Regions from separate parts of the Homo sapiens genome. Here regions 2, 3, 4 and 5 are each linked to region 1. Evidence: promoter capture Hi-C in 16 types of primary human blood cells and fetal thymus (Javierre and others, 2016). All regions are on one chromosome and are shown on one strand. Each heading gives the region's core, a stretch centred on a gene start or on the middle of the fragment in contact. The rest is flanking DNA. Distances are from core to core; before and after follow the strand shown. Region 1 holds the start of FXYD6-AS1 (FXYD6 antisense RNA 1). Region 2 overlaps SMIM35 (small integral membrane protein 35). Region 3 overlaps SMIM35 (small integral membrane protein 35). Region 4 holds the start of IL10RA (interleukin 10 receptor subunit alpha). Region 5 has its middle 16 kb from the start of IL10RA.

Region 1 (4,656 bases), core at 1,841-4,340:
TTCTCTTCCCTCCTTTCCTTTTCTTCCTTCACTTTCCTCTCCTCCTGCTCAGCCCTTCGTCCCGCACCTTCCCGCCATTTCTATTCCTCCCTCCCTCTCTCCCGCCTTCCCAGGCCACTGGGCTCAAGCCACATCCCATAGCAGGACCTGTACATTGCACACTGTCTTGGAGCAAAAAAGGGAGTCACAATGGCTTCTCCAAGTACTCAGTGGCCTGGAGTAAAACATCCTAACATTTCTCTTTGGTCAGTTCTGGGGCCACTACCTAAGGACTTGTAAAGAGAGCCAGGGGTGGTGACTCATACCTGTAATTCCAGCAACTTGGGAGCCTAAAGCAGGAGAATTGCTTGAGGCCAGGAGTTCAAGACCAGCTGGGCAACATGGTGAAATCTTAGCTGGGCATGGTGGCTCGCACCTGTTGTCACAGCTACTCGGCAGGCTGAGGCAGGAGGATTGCTTGAACCCTGGAGTTCCAGGTTGCAGTGAACCGTGATTGCACCACTGCACTCCAGCCTGGGCAACAGAATGAGACCTTGTCTCTAAAAAGAAAAAAGGAAGGAAGGGATCAAGGGAGTGACAGGGTGGGTGACGTGGATTGTGAAATACCCCTCCTCTGTGGAGCCTCCCTGGGCATTAGGTAGAATCGAATCCCTTTTTTTTTTTTTTTTTTTTTTTGAGATGGAGTTTTGCTCTTGTCGCCCAGGCTGGAGTGCAGTGGCGTTATCTTGGCCCACTGCAACCTCTGCCTTCTGAGTTCAAGCGATTCTCCTGCCTCAGCCTCCTGAGCAGCTGAGATTACAGGTGCCTTCCACCATACCCGGCTAATTTTTATATTTTTAGTAGAGACGGGATTTCTTCATGTTGTCCAAGCTGGTCTCGAACTTTTGGCCTCAAGTGATCTGCCTGCCTCAGCCTCCCAAATTGTTGGGATTAGAGGCGTGAGCCACAGCGCCCAGCCGAATCCCTTTCTTGTGCCCCAATCACACTTGTTTGCTGCCTTTATATTCACACTTCATACTTGGCATCCAGACTGTAGAGACCAGGCAGGTAATGCCAATATGTGAATCTGCTGGAGTGACGATGGGGCATGGCACCTGCAGTCACCTACGGTGTCCTCCCAAAGACACTCTGACTCAACTTTCTAAAAACCACTGTTGGCCAAACCAACACAGATGTGGGCAGATTCTGCGTGGAGGTTGCCTGTGTGCAGCTTCTGCCTCTAGTGTTTTGTGTCTTTATTGATACAATTCCTGGAGGGCAAGGACTGTGCCTGCTCTACAGAAGCCTGGAACATCTTAGGGTCTTGAAAAAAGAATCGACCCCTGGAACGTCTTAATATCTTCCATCTTGAAGCCAGCACTTAAGGAGCGGGACCCTCTGGGCCCACCTCCTTCCAGCCCCAACTTCTAAGACCCCAGTGAACCTGGCACCTGAAGCTATAGCAGGAGACAGAAGTCAGTGCTCCTTGTGGTTTCGATGGGCCTGGGAACCACCACCTTCCCTGCCCAGTGGCCACACAGGCCCTGAGTCCGCCTGGATTCCGCAAGTTGTTTAGAACCGAAGAACCGCACAGATCCGCTTGCTCGGTGCCTTCTCTACGTGTGCTCTTGCTTCTGCCTTCGGTCCCCCAGGCCTTTGGAAAGACACAGGCTTATGGTAGAGCTCAAGCTCAACCTGTCAACCCAGTGATCATGGCGATTAAAAACTATCTGGTCACAGCAAGACCTGGTAAATGAGCTTATTGTTCGGGAACACTCGTGATACATCAGGGAATTGACAGGCCTTGCAGAAATTTCATAGCGAGGCCAGGCTGAGATCCCTAGAGGCCCTAGACATGCAAAGCTTTGTGTGTGCCGCCCCCCATACGTTAGTAAAAACAGAACATTATACTTCGACATAGGAATAAGGAAGTCCAATGAGGAGGTTCTAATTTTTCTCATAATAATTATGTTAAGAGTAAGGAATGATGGTCAGCATCTCTAGCACATCATCTACAAATGGTTATCCTTACTTTGCCCGCCTCTAAGCACTCACTTAGTTTTCCTCCTAGTAATCCAGCTATATTCTGAGATTGGTCAGAGATACAATCGTCCTGGTCCAGGTTACACAGCTGGGGGATGGAGGAGCTAGGACTTGACCCCGGGCTGTCTGTCCATAGTGCTTGTCAGCACATGGCCTAGCCTCCTTCAGCAGGCAGATGCTCAGAAGAAGGGACAGTGATCAGATGGCTCCCAAGACTGCACCTGGAGCATGGCTGCCCCTTCAAGACATAAACTAGCTGGACCATGCTCCAAGGAGCCTCCTGTGGGAGTCTAATGGTCTGGAAACAAGACACATGAAGAACAATCGAAGAAATGATGGTCAAAATGGTAATAATTAAAAAAAATGAGCAGCTGAAGTTTATGGAGCACTTACTATGTGCTTGTTTGAGGACTTCACACAGATGAGCTGGATCAGAACTCAGAGTGCTATATATCTCCATGAGGAGGACCAGGAGTGTCCACTCAGCCTCCAGGCATGTGGCACTGGTTTGTAGCTGTGATTTGGTTTAATGAGGCAATGTAGCTTGACTGAATAAGAAGGACAGCTGCCATGCTGTGTCATTTCCCAGAAGGGAATCCCAAGTTCCCTGTCTCAGTAACCTCAGGTGTCCCACACCTTTTGCCTCCCAGTGACTCCCTCCACCCCCCATTCCATTTCGAAGATCTCCATGTCTCTTTGCCTGGAGGTTTTCTGCGTTACTTACCCCTGCTGTAGGAATAGGTCAGTCTGCCTTCTGGGACCCCAGGTGCTGTGGCCCTCCTACCTCTCTGTTTTTTGTTTTTTGTTTTTTTTTTGCAAGATGTAGATTAGAACTTGCCAAATTGTTCTTGGAAGAGAGTCAGAGGCAGAGTACAAGCTGTAGGGAGCGGTGTGAGGGGAGTGCCAGGCGAAGCACACTCCAAGGTCACCGGGCTGTTGGCCCCTTCCTCTGGGAGGAGGGCCTTACCTTGCTTGGAATCATGGGCTTGGCGGGGAGGCTGGGCAAAGCAGGGGTGGGAGAGCACTCCAGCTCTGTCTGGTTCACCCCACCTTGTTCCTGGCTGCTCTGCCTCACCCTGGGCCCAGCGAGAGAAAGGTCAGGTGTGTTTGCCTGAGCCAGGGGAGGAGCTTTGGAAAAACCTGTCTCCAGGCCACAGAGAAGGAATGGCCACCTCTCTCCATTAGTGTGATTTATTGCTGTCACAGCTGAGCTCCAGGGGGGCAGACTCAGCCGGCTCAAGCCAACCAGCTGTTGATCTGATGGGGCCAGCCCAGCCCCGGGCCTGGTTGCACAACAGTGGGGCACCTGCCAAGGCAATGATGGCAGAGCAGGTGATGCTGTGATCGCATGTCCTGAAGGACCTGGATGGCAGGGACTGGAGGGGGTGGGCCCCCCTGCACTATCCAGAAGAACGGTTTCCTACCTCTGAGCTGGGCTTGGAGGCAGTCTGGTAGAGCCTGAGGCTCAGAACATCCCCGAGGTCCCTTCTGCTCTAACAGTGTGAGCTTGGAAAGACCCCAGCCTCTCTGTCAGTTTCCTTTTCTGAATAATCAAGTCCTTCCTAGCTTTGGGGTAAGCTGGGCCTCCTGCTCACTGTGTAACCCTGGAAAAGCCACTTAAGCCTCAGTTTCATCACCTATAAAATAAATGCATCAAGATGTTTTCTGTTATCTCACAGGGTCAAAGTGATACAATGGACATCGAAGCACCGTGACAATTCTCCATGTAGCCATTATGCTATAAATGTTGGCATCACTATCCATTTCCTTGTCTCCTCATTCTCTGATGGCCGGGTTCCTCTTGTCTCTGTTAGACTTGGGTTCATGTTCTGACCTGTTTGCAGACCACCTGCAGTGTCCTCTGTAAAATGGGCATCTCACAGCCTGCCTGGCTGAATTGTTGGGAGGCTCTAAGCAGCTCTTTGGAACCACTGAGACCCTGGAATAGGGTGGAATTGCTGCCAAGTGTGGAGAGTGGGCACCAGGCTCAGTGCAGGTACAAACGTTTAACAGCTTACCCGACCTGAGGCCTCAAGGAGGCCAGGGACTTGGCAATCTGTGCTATAAATGAAGAGAATGGTGACACGGCCACATGCTGGCCATTCAAGCCATGTCAGTGGCATCCGGAAGGTGGTGGAGGGAAGGTAAGAGTAACCAGGGGTGGGCTTGCTCCGCGAGGTCTTCCCGGAGGTGGCGAGCCTCTCCCAGAGGTGAGAGGGAGTTTGGTTACTGGGAGGAGAAAACCAAGAAAAGCTGGAGAGGAATGGGCTCTGTTGTGGTTCAAGCCTGGATGTGAGTTCTGAGAACAGTCAAGAATGCATTTCTCTCCAAGGCATTCACTGTGGGGGAGGTGGGTCAAATGGGTTTGCCCTTGTCACCAGCTGGTGACCTTGACTCTCAGAGTACATTGCCCTTTGGCAGTTCTCAGAACCTCTGTGCACCATGGCTCAGGCCTTCTTGAAGCCAACACTTAAGGAATGGACCCTCTGGGGCCCACCTCCTTCCAGCCCTGCCTTATAAGACCCCAGGGACCTGGCACCTGCAACCATAGCAGGAGGCAGGAGCCAGCGTTCCTCAGGATTCAGGACCTCTGAGTGGGACAAATGGGGCTTGGGAACTGCCACTTTCCCTGCC
Region 2 (4,667 bases), core at 884-3,383, 200 kb before region 1:
AAATGCTAATTAGGCAAAAACAGGAGGTAAAGAAATAGCCAATCATCTATTGCCTGAGAGCACAGCAGAAGAGACAATGATCGAGATATAAACCCAAGCATTCGAGCCAGCAATGGCTACCTTCTTTGGGTCCCCTCCCTTTGTATGGGAGCTCTGTTTTCACTCTATTAAATCTTGCAATTGCAAAAAGAAAAAAAAGAAAAAAAGGAGCAGAGGCAAGCATGACACCACCATCGCAGAGAACCAGCCCAGATGGAAAGGCCCCATGATGCTCCTGCTACCCTCTGCCCCCATGGCCAGCTGCCTCCCTGATGGCTCACACAAGTGGCACCTCACTGCCCTGCAGCTGGAGGGGCACTCCAAGGAGCGCCCTTCTCCCCAGGCACCCCCAGCTTAGGGTGTATGCATCACCCAGCCCTGTGCTGGCAGCACGTTACCAATCAGCCTGCATGAAGACCTGTCAGCTGTCATGTGTGAATTCCTTAAATTCAGTTAAATAGTCCATTAAAGATGTGTTTAGAAAATACCTTTGTAAAACAAAGGTAACTTAAAAAAATGGAAACTTTCAAATCCATTTATATTTTTATTATAAACAAAACTTAATTAAAAGTTTAACAAACTGGCTGAAAACTCACCAAGTGTCAGACTCACCAGCAATTAGAAAAATGGTAATTTACCAGCATTTCCTCATCAGAGTTCTCTCTCTGGTAAGGGTATATCTAGATCTGTAAGGGTCAGTGGACTGTGAATCAATTTTATGGTTTTTTAAAAATCACCACGTATTGGCCAGGCATGGTGGCTCATGCCTGTAATCCCAGCACTTTGGGAGGCCGAGGCGGGTGGATCACTTGAGGTCAGGAGTTTGAGACCAGCCAGGCCAACATGGTGAAACCCCATCTCTACTAAAATACAAAAATTAGCCAGGCATGGTGGCAGGTGCCTGTAATCCCAGCAACTTGGGAGGCTGAGACAGAAGAATCGCTGGAACCCAGGAGGCGAAGGTTGTAGTGAGCCGAGACTGTGCCACTGCACTCCAGCCTGGGCGATAGAGCGAGACTCGACTCTGTCAAACAAACAAACAAACAAACACCACATATTAGGATACTAATGATAGTCCCTATATCCATCCAGAAGTTCCAGAAGTGCTGGCATAAAGCACTGACCACCCCACGGCTGCACACTTAGCACCTGCCTGGAGGATCCCCCATGCTGAGGTCCAGGAGAATGCTTTGTTTCAGTCATTTCTGGGCTGTGACAACACGTGAGCAGGGAGCACTGTGTGAGTCTCCAGGAGGGAATCCTCCTGGGGCCCAGAGACTCCTCCACACCTGAGGAGGGCAGACTGGCTGGGGAGAGCCTGGCCAGGCCCCTAGAGACTGGCAGGGGCAGGCATGCCCCACCCACGCAGGTCCTTCTGTTCTGATGGCACCTGGACCCCCTGTACTTTTTCATAGAACATACGTTTTTGAGCAACCGATTATTAGGGTGCTGATCTGTTGAACATACCTCCTCATAGAACATGAGCTCCATGAAGGCAGCGCTCCTATGTGCCTTGACCACTCTATGCCCAGTGTCTAGTACAGGGCCTGGCACACAGTAAGAACTCCATAAATCCTTGTTGAGTATGGAAATTAATGCTCTTTGGGGCACAGAATTCAAGGGCTGGCATGAGAGGTGGGCAGGGAGAAAGTCCTGGGGCTCTACTTAGAGCTAATGTGGAACTGGTGGAAAAGTTGTTTAAATTTCAGACGGGCACTTTGGGAGGCTGAGGCGGGTGGATCACTTGTGGTCAGGAGTTCAAAAACAGCCTGGTCAACATGGTGAAACTCCGTCTCTACTAAAAATACAAAAATTAGCTGGGCACAATGGCGGATGCCTACGGTCCCAGCTACTCAGGAGGCGGAGGCACCAGAATCGCTTGAACCCAGGAGTTGGAGGTTGCAGTGAGCTGAGATTGTGCCACTGCACTCCAGCCTGGGCGACAGAGTGAAACTCTGTCAAAAAAAAAAAAAAATTCAGAAGGAAACTCCTCACCACTTATATTCATAACCGCAATTTGGACTTACTAACTGGCAAGTCTAATGGACACATATTCCAAGGGGAGCTTCCCTGAGAGTTCCATCCTGGGCTGGTGTTATAATAAGGTGGTTGGCTCCTCGTCCCCCTTGTCATTCTTTGGGTGAATAGCTTGGTGCATATAGAAAGCAGCCATTTCCCTCCTACTTTCACCCTTCACATTGTGGACACTGAGCCTGTTTGTTTGTTTTGAGACAGGATCTCGCTCTGTCACCCATGCTGGAGTGCAGTGGCACAATCTTAGCTCACTGCAACCTCTGCCTCCCAGGCGATTCTCCAAGTAGCTGGGACTACAGATGTGAACCACCACGCCCAGCTAATTTTTGTATTTTTTGTAGAGATGGGGGTCTTGCCATGTTGCCCAGGCTGGTCTTGAACTCCTGAGCTCAAGCTATCTGCCTGCCTCGGCCTCCCAAAGTGCTGGGATTACAGGCATGAGCCACTGGGCTGAGCCCCCTAAGCCTATTGTAACCCATAATTGGAATGGTGAGTTTTTGGAATATAAATTGAGACAGTGACAATTTTTTAAAAAAGTAATCAACAACTAATATTTATTAAGTGCTTTATTTGTAGTAGACATGTATTATTTTATTTTATTTCTTTTTTTGTGTGTGTGTGAGATGGAGTCTCACTGTTATTGCCCAGCCTGGAGTGCAATGAATGGCACGATCTCAGATCACTGCAACCTCCATCCATCTACTGGTTTCAAGCGATTCTCCTACCCCAGCCTCCTGAATAGCTGGGATTACAGGTGCTTGTCATCATGCCTGGGCTAATTTTTGTATTTTTAGGAGAGATGGGGTTTCACCATGTTGGTCAGGCTGGTCTTGAACTCCTGACCTCAGGTCATCTGCCCGCCTCGGCCTCCCAAAGTGTAGGGATTACAGGAGTGAGACACTGCGCCTGGCCTATTTTAAATAAATCTATGGTAATTCCAGGCGTTAGGGTACTTTTATTATTTCCATTTCATAGACAAATGAACTGGGTTTCGGAGAAATTAAGTATCTTGCTCATGGACACATTGTAAGTAACTGGTAAAACTGAGATTCAAGTTCACATCTGTTTGGCACAAGCACCCAAACACTTAACTTTTGTTCTATATTGCCAAAGGATTGTAGAATTCTATGAATGATTTCTTACTGACTGATGGTCTTTTGAAATTTCATTTACACTTTCACCTGAAGTGCCTTTTGAAACTGTCATCTTGAAGTGCCCCCGAGGGAGGGAGGCACTTTTCTTTCGGTATCAGGAGATCACTGAAACCCAAAATCTGCGTTCACCCTTCCATGTTTGAGTAAGTGCAGGCCTTGCCCTAAACTTTCTTGATTTTACAGGGACATTTTCTGGAAGCCAAAGCAACAACAACAACAACAAAACAGAAAAAACCCCTTGACTATACAGAGAAGGCAGTTTGTAAAGAAATAGGAAAAAAAATACACAGGAATTTATCGAATTTAAATTCTATTTAAACTGTGTTGAAAGCCTCTAAGTCTGATGCTTGTCAAAGGACTTTGACCAAAACAGAAGGGTAGATTTTAAAAAGTATTCCACAGGGTAAGGTTTGGGTGAGAAAAAAGTCATCGAAACGTAGACCTAAATTAATAAACAAGAGGCTTTTCTCAGCTACATGGTCCTGACAAAACTGTTTTGAAGTCTGTCTATGTGTTCTAGAATCCTTGTTAATCGCTAATCAAGAACAATCCCTCATACAGATCTTTAAATTAAAAAGCCTGAATTAAATAAAACACCAGGTAAAGACTTTCTGCTACCAAAATTGTTCAAAGCCTGACTTAATTGATGAGAGCTGATCCTTATTCACTTTTTGCCTTAACTGTAGAGAGAAAAATAAAAATTTCCATGCGTGTGCATGCAAATGTCTAACATTATTATGTATTAGTTTTTTGAATGTAAAAAAATAAGAAAAACAGAAATGACACATAATCTCACTCTCCAGAAAACTCCTTTTTTTGTTGTTGTTTTTTGTTTTGAGACAGAGTCTCATTCTGTTGCCCAGGCTGAAGTGCAGTGGCATGGTATCGGCTCACTGCAACCTCCACCTCCTGAGTTCAAGTGATTCTCGTGCCTCAGCCTCCTGAGTAGGTGGGACTATAGGCGCCTGCCACCACGCCTGGATAATTTTTGTATTTTTTGGTAGAGACGGGGTTTCACCATGTTGACCAGGCTGGTCTCAAACTCCTGACCGCAAGTGATCCCCACATCTCGGCCTCTCAAAGGCTGGGATTACAGGTGTGAGCCACAATGCCCAGCCTCCTGTATTTGTTTTTATTAGAGTAATACATGTACCTGGCAAAAAAAAATAAACTATGCAGGAAGATATAAAATGAAAAACAAAAGCTCTTTCCTACCACCACCCAGTTCCTCTCCCAGATCATCACATTACTTTTCTTCTGCATCTGTCCAGAAGAATAAGGTGTATATATACATTAAAATGCATATCATGAAATATATAGTCTTTTAAAAGAATTTTACTATATCCACTTAAACTTTGCTTTTTCATATATAATTATTCGTATTACTCTAGAATGTATTTCCTACAGACATTTCCCTACATAACCATGACACAGTGATCA
Region 3 (4,370 bases), core at 981-3,480, 240 kb before region 1:
GCTTCAACTGATCCACCTGCCTCAGCCTCCCAAAGTGCTGTGATTATGGCGTGAGCCACCGCACCCAGCCCCACAGGATCATTTCTGATTCACGTTCTGCCACATCCTGATAGCTGGAGCTGCCCCCTGGCCAGGGGATGTGCAAGGTGAAACCTTACAGCCACAGATATTTTGCTGGGAGAGACTTGGATAATTGTCCACATTGTTCCCCCATTCTGTGGGCGACAAAACTAAATTCCAGAGAGGCAAAGTCAATGACCCAAAGTCACATAATGAATTAGTGTCTGGTTCCATATGAATCCAGATCTCCTTCCATTTCTCAGACCTGACCCTCCCAGGAGACCAGCCTGGGTTAGACGTGTGTATTTGTCCTTCTGTTGATAACGTGCTTCTGTGTATCAGCCCTTTAATTCTCCAACAACAACCCCAATATTTTGTTCCCATTTGTCAGCTGAGGAAACTATAGCCTATGGACATGAAGTAGTTTCGGGCAGAGTTGGGGCTGGAACCTGGTTCTCTTACTGGTTCACACTGCCAGGCTTGTGAACAGGCTGAATGGAACACAAGTGTTTGAAAGCCCCAGGTTCATGGTTTGGGATAATATGGCCCATGGAGGACCCCAGTGATGTCTGAGCAGGAGGAATACCGGATCTGTGTAATGGATTATTGGCCAAATCTCAGCTGATGAATGCAGTGTGGCCTTGGACTTGTCTCTGAGCAGCAGAGATCTGAAGCTGGCCTGCAGGGCTCTGGAGCCAGCACAGCCCCAGCCCTTCCTTACTGATGGCTGGTGGCCTTGAGAGTTGGAAGTCTTGGGCAGAGGCAAGAGCCTGTGATCTCAGGTGACCTCAGGGTCAGGGCCGTGATGGTCCAGGCAGGCACCTCCCCAGCAGCAGGGCAGTGAGAAGCCAGTGGGCCACTGGGAGCCACGTTTTCAGTTGTCTTGGTTCCTCTATGTGCCAGGCTAAACATCTGGCCCACAGGTTTGCATTGCTTTACCTGGTGCTCAGGTGATGAACCAGGAAAGAGGCAGCTGTCTGGGCATGAAGGCTGCTGGGCATGGCTGGTTGGAGGGATGATGACTCAGCCCTCCTGGCTTCTGCTCCCATTTGGGTCTGGGAGTTTGTGGAGAGGTCCGGGAAGAAGGCACATAAGCAGGACTGGGCAGGGTGGCTGTGATGCCTGCAGGTGGGGGTGAAGGTTTACAGAGGGAGGCACAGTGGCCTGGAGACAACAGAGGCCCACCTCTCCCAGGTGCCAGGGAAAACCAGCTGGACCAGAACCCACATTCTTTTTTTTTTTTTTTTTCTGAGACAGGGTCCCCCTCTGTTGCCCAGGCTGGAGTGCAGTGGTGCAGCCTCAGCTCACTGTAACCTCCACCTCCTGAGCTCAAGGGATTCCCCCGCCTCAGTCCCCCAAGTAGCTGGGATTACAGGTGTGAGCCACTATGCCTGGCTTATTTTTGTATTTTTTGTAGATACAGGGTTTCACCATGTTGACAAGGCTGGTCTCAAACCCCTGAGCTCAAGCGATCCACTCGCTCTGGTTTCCCAAAGTGCTGGGACTACAAGTGTGAGCCACCGCACCCGGCCCAGAACCCCCATTCTCCCGGAGGAAGCCTCAGCTCTCCCTCAGCCCTGTCCTGCCTGCTTCTTTCTCTTGCCCATCCATCTCTTTAGATCCTCCTCCTGTTTTTCCTCTCTTCTTTCCCTCCCATTACTTCTCTTTTATCTCTTCCTCTTTATTTTTGACATTTTTTTCTCTTCCTTCTTCCCTTTCCTTATCTGTTTCCAGCATGTGTGTCAAGATCCGAGGCAGAGTTATCATGAAACTCCTGAAGCTGAAGCTTCAGAGCCCCTCACTTGCACGGTTCCTTCCAGGGCCCTGGGAAAGGGCCCGGCAATATGTTCACACAATCATACGTTTTTGTAAATTTTGCTGAATATTTCTTTGACGTGCTTTTTCTTCAAGAAAGCCCCTCAAGAAGTGGCCTATCCCTGTGAGTGAAGGCCAGAGCCTTCCTCACCCAGGCTGGTCCCATACAGGTGACCTCAGTTTAAGGACCAACAGGTCTCGTCCAGCTGAGAGCTCTATGCACACCAGATTCTGAGAGGTGTCAGCAGCACTTTAAAAAACTTTGTTGTTTGTTTTCTATGAGGTTTCTGGACAATGGTCTGAGCTCAGACACGTTCTGCAGGAGAATATTATTTCTGTAAAGATGGTTATTTAACCCTCCTCCACCCCATCATGGCGGCGCTGCTGAGGGCTGACCCAGAGGCCAGGGGAACTCGCTGGTGTCCATGGGGGAGGTCCAAGGCCTATTGCCACAGCCCTCCCGCCTTGCACAGCACAGAGGCGGTCACCCCAGGGACAGGCAGGCACCCGGCTGCTCCTGTTGCCCTTCCTGGAGGAGGGGGCTGCCTCCTGTCCCTGCAACTGCTTTCCTTATGGGCCAGCCTGACGCTCAGACTTGTTTGAAGCTGCACCGGCAGCTTTTTTGTCTCTTTTCGGCATTCACAACAGCCGGGGACTTGATCTGGATGTATTTTAAACCACATTAAAGAGTCTGTTGCTTTTTGAAAAAAACCAAGCCCCTCAAAATGCATAAGCTTCAGGCCTCTCAAAACCTGAATCCTCCCTGGTCAAGAGCTTGAGCTCTAGTGGCCTGGGGTCCTGCCTCCTAATCTCAGCCACTAATGATTTGCGTAACCATGGGCATCTTATTTAATCCTCTTGCACGCCATCTTCTTCATCTGTAAAGTGGGGATAACAATACTTCTGACCTCATAGGGTTGTTATGAAGATTAAGAGATAATCCTGGCTGGGCGCAGTGGCTCATGCCTGTATTCCCAGCACTTTGGGAGGTCAAGGCAGGTGGATCACTTGAGGTCAGGAGTTTGAGACCAGCCTGGCCAACATGGCAAAACCTCTATTAAAAATACCAAACTACTCTACTAAAAATACCAAAAAAATTAGCCGGGCGTGGTGGAGGGTGCCTGTAATCCCAGCTACTCAGGAGGTTGAGGCAGGAGAATCGCTTGAACCCAGGTGGAGGTTGCAGTGACCCAAGATCTTGCCACTGCACTCCAGCCTGGGTGACAGAGCGAGACTCCGTCTCAAAAACAACAACGACAACACAAGACCTTCACTTCCATGTGAAGTGTTTGGTGCCTAAGAGAGATGTTGTAAATGGCACTGTTATCCCCATTCATTTCACAAAATGTGTGTTTATGGAGCTCATGCTAGGCCTACCTCTTGTGTTAGGCACTGTGGATTAGGAGATAAAACACAGGCTCTGAATACAAACACCCTACAGTCTACTGAAGGAGACAGGAGACATCCACACATCACAGTAAGCTTAAAAAGATGTTCTAGTAGAGATAAAAAGAGAACACTTGGGGGTTTGGAAACCTTTTTTCATTTTTACAGCTCTCTCTGCTCCCTTCCTCCTTCCTCTCCTCCCTGCCTGATTTCCTTCTTTCTTCCTGCCTTCATTTTTCCCCTAGATATTTTTGCTTAGCTACAGTAATTTGTAGGATGATATATCAATTGCCAGTTGTTTCTTTTTGAGGACGGAGTCTAGCTCTGTCACCCAGGTTGGAGTGCAATGTCACGATCTCCGCTCACTGCAACCTCTGCCTCCCAGGCTCAAGCAATTCTCCTGCCTCAGCCTCCGGAGTAGCTGGGATTACAGGTCTCTGCCATCACACCCAGCTAACTTTTTTCTTTTAGTAGAGACGGGTTTTGCCGTGTTGGCCAGGCTGATCTCGAACTGCTGACCTCAGGTGCTCCACCCACCTTGGCCTCCCAAAGTGCTGGGATTACAGGTGTGAGCCACGGTGCCTGGCTGCCAGTTGTTTCTGATTGTGCATTTGATCTCAGTATCAGCAGTCACCCACTCATCTGTCTATATGTGCCTGGCCATCCATCCACCCATCCATCCAGCCAGCCAGCAAGTATTTTCTATGATGATATCAGACAATGTGGTTAGACACTGTGGTTGGGAAAAATAAAATATCTCCTGCCTTGAAGAGCTCAGTCTGCCCATATACTGCCCTTCCCTTCTAGGAGCTTCTGAGGGCAGCAAGCCCTGTAGATCCTTCCTGCTCAAGGTATGTGTGCCCATGGACCCAGCAATGCCACCAGTGCTGGAAGCTGGTTAGAAGTGCAGAATCTCAGCACGCCCCACTCTTATTCAGTCAGAGTCTGCATTCCAAGATCCCCAGGTGATTTGAATTCACCTTAAAGTTTGAGCAATGCTGTTCTAGGTCTCTTCCCACACTCAGGAGTGGGTAGAGGCTATTATTTCTGAAGTGAGCTGAATTCAGAGACTGGAGCTTGACATAGATGAACCCCTGAGGTTCCTTCCA
Region 4 (4,901 bases), core at 351-2,850, 150 kb before region 1:
CCTGATCCCCACCCTGGCTTGGCCCAGGCTCCAGCTCAAAGCCACCTCACTAAGTACACAGACAGCCTGCTTGCTGACATCTGCCTCCTTCTCTTCATAGGTCTCCTGGGCTCCCCAAGCTAAGTGCTTGCCTCATTCCCTAGTTTCTGGGAGGGCTTTGCCTATAGCCAGATGTCCAACCTCTGGCTGGGCAAGGACAGATGGAATAAATCAGCTCTGGCTCTACACATGGCTGAGGACATCCCCACAAGAGCTGGCACCTGTAGCTCCGAGGAGAGATACTCAATACCAATTCCTAGCTCTACTCTCCCTTTACCCCCAGTACACACCATTCACCATGGGAAACACTGCTGAAGGCATTGTCTTCTTTGTAAGAATGCAACAAACATTTCTACTTTAAGAGTCTTGTTGATCAAGCAGACTGAAGTATGTGCAAGGCCAACGGCTGGTTGGTTCCCTTTCTCTCCTCCTTGATCCTCTAAGTTCTCTCCATTTGACAGCGACTCTGCTCCCGCTCCCTAGTGTTCTAACTTCTCTACATCTCTCTAATCATGCACCTGTTTTTTATTTATTTTTTGGGGGGGAGGACTCTGTCATCTGTCTCTTGCTTTCTTTCTTATACCGTCTTTGATCTTCACGTCAGTGCCTTGATTTCGAAACATTAGACGGAAAGTGAAAAATGCAGCGAGTCGTTGTGGTATTTGGGCTGCACATCTCCGACTCAGCTCTCGATCACGTGAATGGCTGACTGCATGTTTTACTTTGTATTTTGGTGTCATGAAGAAGCAGTTTCGGTCCTTGCTCTCTGTCTCTGCTCTTGGTCCTTCCAACTCCCGGCTCTTTCATTCTGTCTCTGGGGTTTACTTTTCTTAGTTGCAGAAACCTTGCCGGAGAACTGTCTGGGTTAGGAGCCTGAACTGGGTTAGAAGCCTGAACTGGCTGGGTTAGGAGGAGAGAGGCAGGGGGCAGTGGGAGTGAGTTGGGGGCTACAGGTGGAGCAAGGGGGATCAGATCGGGGTGATCAGTGAGGGATGAAGGTGAGATGGGAGAAGGACAGACAGAGGTTAGTTGAAGAGTCGACTAAGAGAAGGGAGAGTCAGGAGATCAAAATTATTCCCCAAGGGGACAAGAAGTCCCATCATTTGAACCTAAACAGCAAAAAACCTAGAGCTAAACTTACGGCTCATCTAGAAGTGGGTGGATGATGAGGTTTGCGGGTTGGGGGTTTGGCCTTGCGCATACTTCTCTATCCTTCCCAATCCGTCAGTTCCTGTCAATTTCAGCCTCTTCCACTTCCACAACAGGTGAGCCTGAGATCCAGGTTTGCCAGAGTAAGGGAGCACCCGGGCACCGCTCTGCCAGAGGGCCAGCCAGCCAGGGCTCTCCACTGGATGGAGAACTTTAATGGAGCGGGCGCGGAGAGGGCAGGGCAGGGAAGGGCCGCGTCCCGGAGCCTTACCATGAGCGTCTGAGCCAAGACGGAGGCTGAGGAGCGCCGCCAGCAGCACTACGAGGCACGGCAGCATCCTGGGCGCGCCGCATCGTCCGGGGCCGGAGCGGAGCCGGCCTGCGCGCCTCCAGCTACCCTTGGGCTGGGACTGACAGCTCCGCCGCCCGCTCCGCCAGCGCCCCGCAGGGCTGACGTCAGCGGGGCGAGGCCTACAGACGCCCCGCCCCCGAGGCCGCGGACGGGGAACCACTGTCCCACAGGGCTACCGCCTGGGGCAACCCGAGGCTGTCCTGGGGCGCTAGCGGGCTCCGGCCACCCCTCCCTTTCCTTCCCTCTGGGCCTCCAGTGCCTTCGGATCAAAGTGGTCCGGGTAGCCCGGCCGGCCGTGGGTACGTGTGTGTGGGTGTGTGCGCGCGCGCGTGTGTGCATGTGCTGGGAAGCAGGTGGCCAGGCACAGCCTCGGCCCTGAGTGCGGAAGGTGGGGTGAGGGCGTCCGAGCCGCTTTTGCCTGGCGTGCCGGCTTGGCGTTAAGGATGTGGCCGCGGCCGCTCCGAATGGGGAGGAGGTAGTTGCAGGCCCTTGAGGGCAAAGGCGCCAGGACGCCGGTGTGAGTCTTGGCGTTGCCCCAGGGCCTCCCCGTCTGGGGGTCTGAGGACACCGATGGATGAATACTGAGTAGTCCCCTACCTAATTGTTGGAGGGGGGTCCACAACTAAGCAGTTTATGCAGACCTGCCCCCAAAGTCCCAGGAAGCTGAGAGACCCAAGAAAGAGGCTTTTAACCAGCAGCTCAGCAGCTGAGCCTCAAACCGCGATTTTTAAAATTTTTTTATCTATTTTTTTTTTTTACAGTCTCGCTCTGTCGCCCAAGCTGGAATGCAGTGGCGTGATCTCGGATCACTGCAACCTTCGTCTCCCAGGTTCAAGCGATTCTCCTGCCTCAGCCTTCCGAGTAGCTGGCATTACAGGCATGTGCCACCACGCCTGGGCTAATTTTTGTATTTTTAGTAGAGACGGGGTTTCACCATGTTGGCCAGGCTGGTCTCGAACTCCTGACCTCAGGTGATCCACCCGCCTCAGCCTCCCAAAGTGCTGGGATTACAGGGGTGAGCCACCGCGCCCAGCCTTAAACCGTGTTTTAAACTTAGTTTCTCTTCTTTCCTTTTTTCTCTTCCTCCTCTGGGCCTCAAGATATAATTTTGAGACAAACTGCATGTATGTTACCTCTCATCTTAAAACACAGCCTCAGGACGTGCTGTGACCTCCACTCCCTTTCCTGTCCCATACTGTACTCCCATGCCTTACGCACGTTTATTTACCTACGTGCTTGTTAAGCACACGCTATGCTCTTACCTGGTCATATATTTCCTTAGATGCCTCAGGAGCTGCGTCCTGATAGGGACCAGGCACCTCCGGAATTCTCTCTCCAACAAAAGCTTACTTCAGGAGTTGAACATATACCCTGCTGAAGAGTAACTAATTTATAACCTGGCAGGATCCACGATTGCACCAGCCCCTCCACCAAATAAGACGATAATTAAAGAGGACCACTGGAGCAAGTCACACCACCTGGTACCTCCTAACCTCCCCCTTGCCTTTTCTGCATTTCAGATCCTTTCTTAAAAAACCCCTGCGTTCCCCCCATGAATTGAAGAGTGGAATTGTTTGCTGCTCTTCCCCTGCTAGCATGGCAGCTAGCAGATTTTCCTTTATTATCCATTCTTTCTACAAGCAGAGAGCAGCCAGATCCTTTTGCAGGTTACAGGCTGACACATCCAGTTTCTTCGAAAAAAACATTTAATAAGGACTTATAAACAGAAGCTACGTTTGTGTCTCCATGATTCACCCCCAGGACCAGGGCTTATAGACCACAGGGGAAGGGTGATTCAGAAAAGATGTGTAGGACAGTTGAAGTATGATAACATCAAGGTTGTTTGACCTAAGGGCCGGATTTACAGTAAGTGTTTGCACTTACACAAGGAGCAATTGATAAATTGGGAATCTCAGAGGTCTTCTGGGAGGCTCCAAAGCCAACACGGCCAAAACTGTGGATTAGCATCCAACATGGAGTTGCTTTAGCCTCCATAAGGACTTCTCCCAGTCTCTTCTGGGTTTCCCTTGCTTGCTTGAAATCTGATATTCAGACCAATTTTTGTGTTGGGTAATAGCACTACTGGAGTGCTGGGTAACACCTCAGCACATCCTCAGTCTCTCGCACCTCTGTGTCACTTGGCTCATCTGAGGCCATCTCCAGGTGAACCAAATATGTGAGGATATGAGAGACAGACTGTCCATCACTTTTTCTTGGAGGCTGACACCTGCTTCAAAGTGTGTGTGTGTGTGTGTGTGTGTGTGTGTGTGTGTGTGTGCACTTGCAGTCATATATGATTTGCAGTGGCCAGTCTGTGGATTTGGATTTCATTGTGGTGTGGAGAACGTTGTCTGTTTGCCAAGTGCATATGTGTGTTTGGGACTGTGTGTGCATCCCTCAAGCCCTGCCCTTGTTCTCAGACAAACCAAAGAAGAGGGGCTCAGGACATTTCTGGCCAGCAAGGCCCCACTCCAGGCCTGCTGCCCCACCCACCCGGCCATACCCCGCCCTGCCTGTATTGTAGTTTGTACCTTCATTTGTTCCTGAGCTCTTGTCCTGTGTTCAAGAAGAATGAGAATTCGCTGACAGTTGAAGGGTGAGGATGGGCAGAGAATAATTTTATTGAGTGATGGACCAGCTCTCAGCAGAGAGGGGATGGGGAGGGGGGTGGTTCCCCGCTCCCACAGTTGGGTGTTTTTTTTTCTCAGTGTGGCTGGATCCAGGGCTTTTTCTGGACTCAGAATAGGGAGTGCATGCCGATTGGTTTGTGAGTATGCAAAAAAGGTTAAAGTGAAAATACCACTCAAAGGTGGGTACGACAGTGTAGAAAACCAATTAGGAAAGGGTAGGTGTATGTAAAGTAGGTGAAGGGTGGGGATCAATCAGAGGAAAGCGTGCCAAATGGGAAGACAGGTTCTCAATCTGGTCTGAAGATTTAACTTGCAGCTTGGCTTTCAGGTTTTAAGTTGTCTTCAACTTGGAGGTGGGGTTTCACCAGGGACCCGCCCTATCTGCCTAGGCATTTGACTGCCTCCTGTAACTATCACCTGCTCCTGGGAGGTTTCCCTGGCAGTGCCCAATGCCCACATGGAGGGCCTTATTTACTGCAGCTTTTGAGAAAGGGCCCCTAACTTAGGTGTGTGACACCAGCACTGTGCGTGGTCTAGGAGTTAGTGAGGCATTATCCCCATGGTTTGTGGAGATATAAACCCTATTTCAATATTTTCAGAGCGGAAATCTCTCTGCCCAGTGGCCTGGACTGAAAGTGTGCCAGGTTGGCTGGGGGTGGGAGTTGGGAGATCCCATCCTGTATCTAAGAGTCTACATTGGGACTAGAAAGACCTCACTCTTGACGATAGTC
Region 5 (4,337 bases), core at 893-3,392, 140 kb before region 1:
AGGCGTGAGCCACTGCGCCTGGCCTCCACCTCCATTTTAAATAGAGTGGGCAGCAGGCCTCCCCCAGTAGGTGACATTAGAATGAGGACCCAAGGGATGTGAGGAATGAACCGTGTGGATATCTGAACGAAGGGTGTTGTGGGCAAAGGGAACAGCAAGTGCCAGGCCTCCAGGTAAGGGCGTGCCCGGCCGGTGTGGGAGGGGTTGGCGCCCAGTGAGTGAGGCCCACCTAAGTGAGGGATGGCTCCTTCATGGGGCTCATGGCTACTGGCTGACAGACAGAGAGACAGACAGGGAACTCGAGAACTCTCAGCCTCCCCCACTTGTGGAGAACATTCCCTGGAGGAGAGTCGAGAGAGGCATGGACATAGGGCTCTTCTTCCTGCAGCTTCTGAGTAAATTATGATCCCCCTGCACACTCGGGCTTTAGCCCTCCTTACACTCACCCTCTCCTCTCTTTCTTCTTGATCCCCTTTTCTTTTTTCCTTTTAAAATTATTTCAGATTATTCTAGATTATTCCATCCCCCATAAATCTGACGTGCTTAGACACGGAGAAGGCAGGAGGGTTTTGGGGGTCAGGGTGAGGAGGGTTTTGGAGGTCAGGTGTATTTGTTTCCCAAGGCTATATCAAATTATCACACACTGGGTGGCTTAAGATGACGGAATGAATTCTCTCCTGGTTCTGGAGGGTCTGAAATCAGTTTCATTGGGCTGCAATCAAGGTACTGGCAGGGCTGGAATTTTCTAGGAAGGAATGTGTTCCTTGCCTCTTTTGGCTCCTGGTGGCTAGCCTTCGTGTGTGCGTGTGTGTGTGTGTGAGAGTGAAATCTTTCCCTGCCTCTTTTTTATACCAAAAATTTCTTAAGAGCTCCAATGCAATTGCATTTAGGGCTCACTTTGATCATCTAGGATAACCTCCCCATCTCAAGACCCAATATACAAAGACACTGTTCCCATATAAAGTAACACTCACAGGTTCAAGGGATTAGGTCTGGATATCTTTTGGGGGCCATTTTCATCCTACCACAGAGAGTGTTCCAGTTTCAACATTCATCTCTATATTCATTCAGTCATTCCCTATTCGACACAGGGTCACTGGCTATTTCCTCAGTGCAAGGCAGTGTGCAGGATGCTGGGAATACACGGTGAGCAAAGGAGAGCCCCCCAGGAGCTTGCGGTTTAGAAGGAGAGATGGATGTGAATCAAATAGTCACTCAAATAAAACGCAGAGTTGCGACTGTGGTAAGTGCCATGAGAGCCTGTATTTGGGGTTTTACCTGGTAAGGAGGCCAAGAAAGCTTCCAGGAGGAAGTACCCTTAAATCTGCATGAGTTGGGGTAACCTTCCCTTCAAAGAGGGAAGGAAGAGACTTCCAGGTGGAGGGGACAGATGGCAGAACGGAGGTATGGCTGGCTCTGGCAGGTTGTGCAGGGCTTGGGGTGGCCTGGGGTGGCGGGTGGGGTTTCAAAGATTGTGTGGAGACTATTGTGGTGTGCCTCCTCCCCACCCTCTACCCCAGTCCTCACCCTTGGCTACTGCTCTGTATCCAGGGCCTCTTCCTCCTATTCCTGACTCAGGCCCATCCCTCCACTTCCTGCTCAGTGTGGCTTGTGGTTTAATAAGGAAACTCCCCAGGCTCAGTGTTGGGGCAGACCGCTAAGCTTCAGTCAACAAAAACTTCTTATGAGCCTACCGTGTGGCACACATTGTGTTGGGAATGAGAAGGAATAGGATGAGGAAACAACATTATTCTGGTCCTTGGGGCAAGAGGCTGTATGGTGGAGGGGAAAACAGAGAGGGTTAAGTGCTGAATAGTCTGTTGACTTGGGTTGAATCTCACTTCTGCTACTTACTGGCTGTGTAATATTGGAAGAGTGACTTCACCTGTCTGTGCCTCAGTCAGCAAACATTTATCAGCTAATTCCAGTCAACAGACATTTAGTGTGCACCCACTGTGTGCTAGGCAGTGGGCCATATGCTGGCAACCCGCAGAGACATGTCTGAGTGGGAATAGAACTCTGAGGTTGGCTGTTTCCTTGCACAGGCCACCAGATGATTTCTGTATGGGGACCCCAGCCAGGCAAGCTCTCTAGGAGATGGCAGTCAGAGAGTGGGGACACAGTCCTGGGAGTGTGCAGCTATTTGGCCTTCTTTGTGCCTTCTCTTCCCCCCTTCTGCAGAATACTCAACACTGCTTATGGAGAACCTTCCTTGGTTAACACTAGACATTCTCATCTTCCTAAGTGCTCCAGCTTTGGGAAGAATGTGCTGTTTTGACCAACAGTTTCATGTGCATCTTTGTTGATCGGCCACTATTATTAGGTGCCTCTACTTGATGTTTTTTAATGGGAATGGCTCCAGTCTTTTCCACTGAGCCATTCCATATAAAGTCCAAGATGGAGTTGGACAGCATGTTCACTTACTGGACCATGCTTGGCAAATCACTTGACCTCTCTAAGCCTCCATTTCTATGATAAAGTGAGGGTATGAATCCCTGCCCTGCATCCTCCTAAGGCTTTTGTAAAAATCAAATGAGATTCTGCACCCAAGCTGTCTTTTCACCTCATTGTGGTGCCCAGCACAAAGCACTAGGGGTGGTAGTAAGGAGGGGTGAAAGCTTGAGCGTTAAATGGTTCATACTTGTGAAAATTGGCTGAGCCCCACCATACCTCATGGGTCCTTCTTTAAGGGTTGTTTTGTGGGCAGGTGGGTTAACCGTCCACAAATTGTTTGGTTTGGTTTTCTTTTCCAACCATAGTGGCTTTTGAGTCTTCAACTCCCTGCCTGCCCTCTTGCCTTTTTAACATCTGGGTGGGGGATTTTGCTCAGAGTGTGAAACAGACTTCTAGATCTCTCAGGTCCTCATAGGTGTGAGGTGCTGTTTTTGCCCTTGGGTGGCAAGGGTACTTTATGTGTGAGTGGAGGTGTCAGGCTATGGCCCCTCATTCCCTGGGACTGTTATGGTGGCCAGGGTCTCATAGTCTGTGTCTGAGAGTTCAGGCACCTATCAGAAATCACGGAACTGAATTCTGGGGTTGGCTCTGGAGCATGCTGAGTTGGGCACCCAGTTACTACACAACCAGGCCCAGCAGGGAAGGAAGGGGGGGGAACCAGAAATGCATGAACAAGACCAGTGAGAGCAGGGCTCACCTAGCAGCACAAAACCCTCATGGACAAATACGGCAAGGAAATTCACTGAAATTTTAAAAGTATGGTGTGCAAGGCACACACGGGAATGCAGTGGGGCTCACCAGTAGGGCTCTGATTCTTTATGCATAAAATGGGCATAATAATACTATGTAGAGTTATCGCAAAGGTTAAATGAAATAAGATATGTGAATGATGTTTAGGACAGTGCATGGTACCAAGTAAGTGTCCAACAAATGTTAGATATGAGAGATCCCGCTCAGAGTCTATAAACTGTTATCAGCCAAAGGGTTATTCCAGTACAAGCTATTTCCAAACACCCTTTGGCTGATAACAGTTATAAATTCTGAATAAAATATTTAAAACTTCAGCTATTAGAAGAGACAGATCTCCCGTGTACAAGAATTTCGTATCACTTACATAGATAATCTGCCATCAATGGTGGTGGAGGAAGAAAACCTTCTCACTCTTTAAGTGCAGGCTGCACATAGTGACTTCCTAAGTGCAGGCTGTACAGTGACTTCCTTCCAGAGAATACAGCATAGAAAGTGGAGAATGAATAACTTTATAGTGGAGAAGCCAACAAACAACGTCAGCCTGCTGAATAAGATGAAAATCAATAGCAGTAAGTTACGTTGATAGTATACACCCTTCATGTGATGTGACAAGAACGGCATTTAACCTCTGTAGTCTTCCTTCCCAGAACGCACAGCCCCAGATAACCATGAGGAAACCATAAAATGAACTCCAATAGTGGGAACTCCTACACTGCACTTGACCAGTATGCACCAGAACTGTCAAGGGCACCAAAACCCAGAGACTCACATCCAAAAGCATTCTATGGAGACATGGCAACTAATTATGACACCCTGGATCAGATGCTGGAGTAGAAAAAGGACATTAGGGCTGGGCGTGGTGGCCCATGACTGTAATCCCAGCACTATGGGAGGCCGAGGAGGGTGGATCACCTGAGGTCAGGAGTTCGAGGCCAGCCTGGCCGACATGGCGAAACCCCGTCTCTACTGAAAAATACAAAAATTAGCTGGGTGTGGTTGTGGGCGCCTGTAATCCCAGCTACTCAGGAGGCTGAGGCAGCAGAATAGCTTGAATCTGGGAGGCAGAGGTTGCAGTGAGCCAAGATCATGCTACTGCTCTCCAGACTGGGCGACAGAGCGAGACTCCATCTCAA

Evidence for each region. The method cuts DNA at HindIII sites, captures the fragments that hold promoters and counts their contacts. A CHiCAGO score of 5 or more calls a contact.
Region 2: a fragment that was not itself captured here is called in contact with the fragment with the promoter of FXYD6-AS1 in region 1 in 1 of 17 cell types (non-activated CD4 T cells); the score reaches 5.8 in non-activated CD4 T cells.
Region 3: a fragment that was not itself captured here is called in contact with the fragment with the promoter of FXYD6-AS1 in region 1 in 14 of 17 cell types (non-activated CD4 T cells, naive CD4 T cells, total CD8 T cells and 11 more); the score reaches 11.1 in non-activated CD4 T cells.
Region 4: a contact is called between the fragment with the promoter of IL10RA here and the fragment with the promoter of FXYD6-AS1 in region 1, in 6 of 17 cell types (naive CD4 T cells, M1 macrophages, monocytes and 3 more). The highest score is 7.6, in naive CD4 T cells.
Region 5: a contact is called between a fragment that was not itself captured here and the fragment with the promoter of FXYD6-AS1 in region 1, in 6 of 17 cell types (monocytes, M1 macrophages, activated CD4 T cells and 3 more). The highest score is 7.3, in monocytes.

The regions. Positions count from the first base shown.
Region 1 is chr11:117,832,152-117,836,807 of GRCh38, reverse strand. It overlaps FXYD6-AS1 (FXYD6 antisense RNA 1), which reads right to left and starts at 3,090. Exons shown (of 3, transcript NR_186291.1): 1 at 2,747-3,090; 2 at 306-539. The region is part of intron 6 of FXYD6-FXYD2 (FXYD6-FXYD2 readthrough); the gene reads left to right. The HindIII fragment of the contact is 9,424 bases long and covers 1,845-4,656 here.
Region 2 is chr11:118,032,304-118,036,970 of GRCh38, reverse strand. All of the region lies in intron 1 of SMIM35 (small integral membrane protein 35), which reads left to right. Among named protein-coding and RNA genes, the nearest start is that of TMPRSS4, 42 kb to the left of the region's middle. RefSeq lists an enhancer at 3,386-3,465. The HindIII fragment of the contact is 6,184 bases long and covers 1-4,667 here.
Region 3 is chr11:118,071,687-118,076,056 of GRCh38, reverse strand. The region is part of intron 1 of SMIM35 (small integral membrane protein 35); the gene reads left to right. Among named protein-coding and RNA genes, the nearest start is that of TMPRSS4, 3.2 kb to the left of the region's middle. The HindIII fragment of the contact is 763 bases long and covers 1,849-2,611 here.
Region 4 is chr11:117,983,093-117,987,993 of GRCh38, reverse strand. It overlaps IL10RA (interleukin 10 receptor subunit alpha), which reads right to left and starts at 1,600. Exons shown (of 7, transcript NM_001558.4): 1 at 1,460-1,600. The coding sequence starts at 1,526. RefSeq lists enhancers at 423-722, 2,113-2,172 and silencers at 1,523-1,802, 1,823-1,922. The HindIII fragment of the contact is 8,039 bases long and covers 1-2,887 here.
Region 5 is chr11:117,968,110-117,972,446 of GRCh38, reverse strand. No RefSeq gene overlaps it. Among named protein-coding and RNA genes, the nearest start is that of IL10RA, 16 kb to the left of the region's middle. The HindIII fragment of the contact is 956 bases long and covers 1,665-2,620 here.